Linked DNA regions of Homo sapiens: region 2 is linked to region 1. The links are contacts of gene promoters, found by promoter capture Hi-C in human tissues and cell types (Jung and others, 2019). All regions are on one chromosome and are shown on one strand. Each heading gives the region's core, a stretch centred on a gene start or on the middle of the fragment in contact. The rest is flanking DNA. Distances are from core to core; before and after follow the strand shown. Region 1 holds the start of GAST (gastrin). Region 2 overlaps DNAJC7 (DnaJ heat shock protein family (Hsp40) member C7).

Region 1 (2,782 bases), core at 182-2,681:
GCCTGCTTCCTTCATCACCCATTAATTCTCAGCAAGGCTGGCTGTAAGCATGGGTACCACTGCAGTTACCCAATACCCAAGGGGATCAAACTCTCCCAGAAAAGGTGGGGGCCCAATGACGCATGAACAGGAGCAAAATCTCTGCTCTCAACAGTGGAAAAGTAAAAAACAGCCTACGGCTCATTACATCTGGTCAAACCATGTGGAGGCAGCAGTTTATCAAATAAGTCAACAAGGTACCATTTTGTTTTCTGGTCCATCTTTGGCAAATGCTTTAGTCTGTTTGCTAACCATTTGAAGGTATATTTTGATACTGAAAAGTTGTTGGCTGGGCATGGTGGCTCACGTCTGTAATCCCAGAACTTTGGCAGACTAAGCTGGGCCGATCATGAGGTCAGGAGTTCGAGACCAGCCCGCCCAACACGATGAAACCCCATCTCTACTAAAAATACAAAAAATTAGCCAGGCGTGGGGGCGTGCGCCTGTAATCCCAGCTACTAGGGAGGTTGAGGCAGAAGAATCGCTTGAACCCAGGAGGCGGAGGTTCCAGTGAGCCGAGATCACACCACTGCACTCCTGCACTCCAGCCTGGTGACAGAACTAGACTTTGTCTCAAAAAAAAAAAAAAGTTGTTATGCAGATTACTAGCTCCCCTTGAAAGCAAAATGAAGGAGGCTTCAAAGGCAGGACCCTCCAGGAATTGGTTCTGCATAGGGGGTTTGCAAGTGGTGGTGCATGGGCAGCTGACCTAGAAGACACGGGGCAGCTACAAGCCAAACCCAGCCCAGCACAGAGGGCCTAAGGAGAAGAAGGCACCAAGGGTGTTCCATGGTAGGGGGAGGGTGAAAGGACTTCAGAGGTGACCAGGATGTGAGCCACTAGAAGGAGAGAACAGGGCCATCAGCCCACAACCCATTGCTCCTGGTAACACGTTATGTTTGCAGAGTCCAGTGGAGGGGACGGGGAATCAATACATCACCCCACATTCACACGCTTGCCAAACATCAGTGGATGGCGAAATCCACTTTCCCTGAATCTAAGCCCATCGGGTTCACTCCCTCACCTACCACCACCCACAAAGGTCCCTATGTAGTTCGAGAGATAAGTGCCAGGCCTCTGACCCCCAGGATATGGTGGGAAGCATTGCTCCTGACCCAGGGAGCTTGGTTCCTGCCCCTCAGGTACAGCTGGAGAGCTGCCGCCACCCCGCTCCAGCCCCTCACCATGAAGGTCAACTCCCCTATCCTTCCCCCACATCCTGGATGACTGACTGACACTAAATGAAAGGGCGGGGCAGGGTGATGGGCTGTACCTGTGCCCCACCCCATTCCTCTCGCCTGGACTCATATGGCAGGGTAGGGGCGGGGTGGGGGGACAGTTGGGAGGGACCTTGAGGGCTTTATAAGGCAGGCCTGGAGCATCAAGCAGAGCAGAGACCTGAGAGGCACCAGGCCCAGCCGTGGCACCACACACCTCCCAGCTCTGCAGGTGAGAAAACCCAGGAGGAGAGGGGAGAGGCTAGGAAGTGGGTTGACAGGTCCTCTCCCCCATCAAGGTACCAGGCCACTGGCCAGAGTCTGGGGCTCACCCCTTGGGGTCTCCAGAGCTGGGACCCTTTCTTTATCCCAGGATGGAACTAGGTCTTGGCTCCAGTACCTACCCTGGTATTCCCAACCTTGCCTTCCACCTGCCCTTCTGCCGCAGCCGGGGCCCTGCCCTTAGCCTATCCCTTCACACTCTTCCCAGCCCTGGGAGGTGAGGAGGACTGGGGTTCTTCTCCTTTCTCTCAGACAAGAAAACTGAGGCCCAGAGGCAAGATGTGACTTGCCCAAAGTCACAGGGATTATTAGGCAAGGCTGGGATAGGAATCCACAGCTCCTGGATCCCACTTCAAGCCCTTTCCTAGACCAGTGCCATCCAAAAGAACGTCCTATGATGCAGGAAATGGTCTTCATCTGCACTGTTCAATATGGTAGCCACTAGCCACGTGTGCGCTTGAAATGGGGTTAGTGTAAGGAAGTTTTTGTTGTTGTTGTTGTTTGTTTTTTTATATAGAGTCTCGCCGTGTCACCCAGGCTGGAGTGCAGTGACATGCAACCTCTGCCTCCCAGGTTCAAGCAATTCTCCTGACTCAGCCTCCCGAGTAGCCGGGATTACAGGCGCCTGCCACAACACCCAGCTAATTTTTCATATTTTTGGTAGAGACAGAGTTTCACCATGTTGGCCAGGCTGGTCACAAACTCCTGACCTCAAGTGATCCAACCCCCTCAGCCTCCCAAAGTGCTGGGATTACAGGCGTGAGCCACTGCACCTGACCATAATTTTTTAATTTAATTAATTTAAATGTAAAGAGCCACATGTGGCTGGTGGCTATAGCACTGAACAACACATGTGGTTAGCATCTGACAATACAGCTCCAGATCACTGATTTTTCAAACATTTCTTCAGCAGCAGAATTCTTTTCTTCCAAAGAAAACCTAACAGAAAACCTGATTATGAAAAACTTAATGGCCAGGCACCGTGGCTCATGCCTGTGATCACAACACTTTGGGAGGCTGAAGCAAGCAGATTGCTTGAGCTCAGGAGTTCCAGACCAGCCTGGGCAACATAGTGAGACCTCATCTCTACTAAAAATAAAAACAAAAAAATTAGCTGGGCATAGTAGTGCACACTTGTAGTCCCAACTACTCAGGAGGCTGAGGTGGGAGGATCTCTTGAGCCCAAGAGGTCGAGGCTGCAGCGAGTCAGGATCACGCCAGCCACTGCATTCCAGCCTGGGAGA
Region 2 (2,782 bases), core at 96-2,595, 290 kb after region 1:
AGCAAGGATACAATCAGTTTTAAAACAAAACAAGGTACGGCTTTGAAGTGTAGTGATTATCTTTTGAGGAGAGAGGCAGCTTATTAATCTTAATGAACTGTTTTGTATAATGAGACATTAAAATGAAATGTGCATGTTGAGCTGGGGTAAGCAAATTAGGTGAGAAGAATGCTGACACGGGATTAAAGTATGCTGGCAAATTAAGCATGGAGATAACTAAGACTTCTTTTATGTACAAAGGCCATTTTCTAAGGTAGTAAATGAATTGACAATGACTGAAATGTATTTAGGTGGGTTTTGCCATAACATTCAGTATTTCTGGAATTGCCTTTAATTTATCAAAAGAAAAACTACCCACCCCAGTTAGAAGAAGTTATCACAGCTGGGGATGGTGGCACATCCCTGTAATTCTAGCACTTTGGGAGGCCAAGGTAGGAGGATCGCTTGAGCCCAGGAGTTTGAGACCAGCCGGGGCAACATGGTAAGACCCTGTCTCTATTTTAAAAAATTTAAAGAGTTAAAAAAAAAGAAAAGAAAAAGAAAAAAGTTATCATTCATGAGTTTGTTTTTTTTTTTGAGACGGAGATTCGCGCTTGTTGCCCAGGCTGGAGTGCAGCGACGTGATCTTGGCTCACTACAACCTCTGCCTCCCAGGTTCAAGCAATTCTCCTGCCTCAGCCTCCCGAGTAGCTGGGATTACAAGCGCCCACCACACCTGGCTAATTTTTGTATCTTTAGAGACAGGGTTTCACCATGTTAACAGGCCAGGCTGAAATGAAATGTGCATGTTGAGTTGGGGTAAGCAAATTAGGGGAGAAGAACTCCTGACCTCAGGTGATCCGCCCGCCTCGGCCTCCCAAAATGCTGGGATTACAGGCATGAGTCACCACGCCTGGCCTTCATGAGATCATTAAGCCTGAAGGAGTTCATACAGTAACAGTTATCAACCCATTGGGCAAAAGGCTACTTCTCAGAGAGAAGCTACTTTTCTCAATTTTTTTTAATTTAATTTTTGAGATGGAGTTCTTTGGTCGTCCCCCAGGCTGGAGTGCAACGGCAGGATCTCAGCTCACTGCAACCTCCACCTCCTGGGTTCAAGCGATTCTCCTGCCTCAGCCTCCCTAGTAGCTGGGATTACAGGCACGCACCACCACACCCAGCAAATTTTTGTATTTTGTAGAGACAGGGTTTCACCATGTTAGCCAGGCCGGTCTCAAACTCCTGACTTTAGGTGATCTGCCTGCCTTGGCCTTCCAAAGTGCTGGGATTATAGGCGTGAGCCACTGAGCCTGGCCTATTTTTTTTATCTTTTTGAGATGAAGTCTTGCTTTGTTGCCCAGGTTGGAGTGCAGTGGCACAATCTTGGCTCACTGCAACTTCTACCTCCCGAGTTCAGGCAATTCTCCTGCCTCAGCCTCCCAAGTAGCTGGGATTACAGGTGCCCGCCACCAGGCCCAGCTAATTTTTGTATTTTTAGTAGAGACAGGGTTTCGTCATGTTGGCCAGAGTGGTCTGAAACCCCTGATCTAAAGTGATCCGCCTGCTTTGGCCTCCCAAAGTGCTGGGATTACAGGCATGAGCCACTGAGCCTGGCCTATTTTTTTTATCTTTTTGAGATGAAGTCTTGCTTTGTTGCCCAGGTTGGAGTGCAGTGGCACAATCTTGGCTCATTGCAACCTCTACCTCCCGAGTTCAGGCAATTCTCCTGCCTCAGCCTCCCAAGTAGCTGGGATTACAGGTGCCCGCCACCAGGCCCAGCTAATTTTTGTATTTTCAGTAGAGACGGGGTTTCGTCATGTTGGCCAGAGTGGTCTGAAACCCCTGATCTAAAGTGATCCTCCTGCTTTGGCCTCCCAAAGTGCTGGGATTACAGGCGTGAGCCACCAGGACTTGGCAGCTACTTTTAATAATATTTGGCAAGTAAATGTTTTCTAGCGTAAGTATCAGTTCTTTCTCACCTATGGCTTTTGTATAATAATTATAAGCTTCATTGTAATCTTTCTTGGCATAGTATGCATTTCCTTGTTCCTTGAAAGTCTCTGCTTCCCTGAAAATGAAAGAGAAAGAGAATCATGTTACTTTACAAAGGGAATAACCTCTGTAATCTTACAGGAGGAATCTTTGGTCTAGAGCCCGCAGCACACTGAGCTGAAAGTTAGTGTGATACTTGAAGGATTTATAGATTTGTTGAATAGGCCAATGGACCAAAAGGAGGTGCTAATGAAAGAATCCAAGTTCTTCAGATGCTCCTTTTTGTCACTTAGATACATTCAAACTAAATCAAGAAAACCCCTCTTATGTTCCTGCCTCACCTCACTATTTCTGCCTGTAGTCATCCTCCCCGCAGGACAAATTTAGACATTCCCTCATGGCAAGGAATTTTTCTATCTCCTTCCACAGTGTCACAACTGCTGCCTCTTTTGCAAACTTACAGGAAAAATGGTTACTCCATTCAGGGCAACTTATTTCTCAATGTGAAATAGGTCACATCCTCAAGAGTTTTAATAATTTCACCTCCTGAAAAGTGGCTCATGCATTTGTCACTGGAAGAACAAGCAGAGCAAAGGCAGGTGGCAAAAGAGTTAAAAGCATAGCATGTTGGTGTTTAAGACAGGAACAGAGCTGAGTGACAGCAGAGACTAAGACCGTGGATGACAGGGACATATGAGGTACAGGATGCCAGTGCCATACTATAAGGAGCACCCATCCACTGGTGTTCCCTCTTCCCATCACAACAATGTAGGTACTTGCTGCCCTCTTTGTACTCCCTCCAGTACCTTAT

What was found. The method cuts DNA at HindIII sites, captures the fragments that hold promoters and counts their contacts. A contact is called where the count stands out against the background at its distance.
Region 2: a fragment that was not itself captured here is called in contact with the fragment with the promoter of GAST in region 1 in 1 of the 25 tissues and cell types used here (dorsolateral prefrontal cortex).

The regions. Positions count from the first base shown.
Region 1 is chr17:41,710,900-41,713,681 of GRCh38, forward strand. It overlaps GAST (gastrin), which reads left to right and starts at 1,432. Exons shown (of 3, transcript NM_000805.5): 1 at 1,432-1,488. The HindIII fragment of the contact is 8,154 bases long and covers 1-2,782 here.
Region 2 is chr17:41,998,524-42,001,305 of GRCh38, forward strand. DNAJC7 (DnaJ heat shock protein family (Hsp40) member C7) reads right to left here. Exons shown (of 14, transcript NM_003315.4): 2 at 1,959-2,047. Among named protein-coding and RNA genes, the nearest start is that of DNAJC7, 18 kb to the right of the region's middle. The HindIII fragment of the contact is 6,309 bases long and covers 1-2,782 here.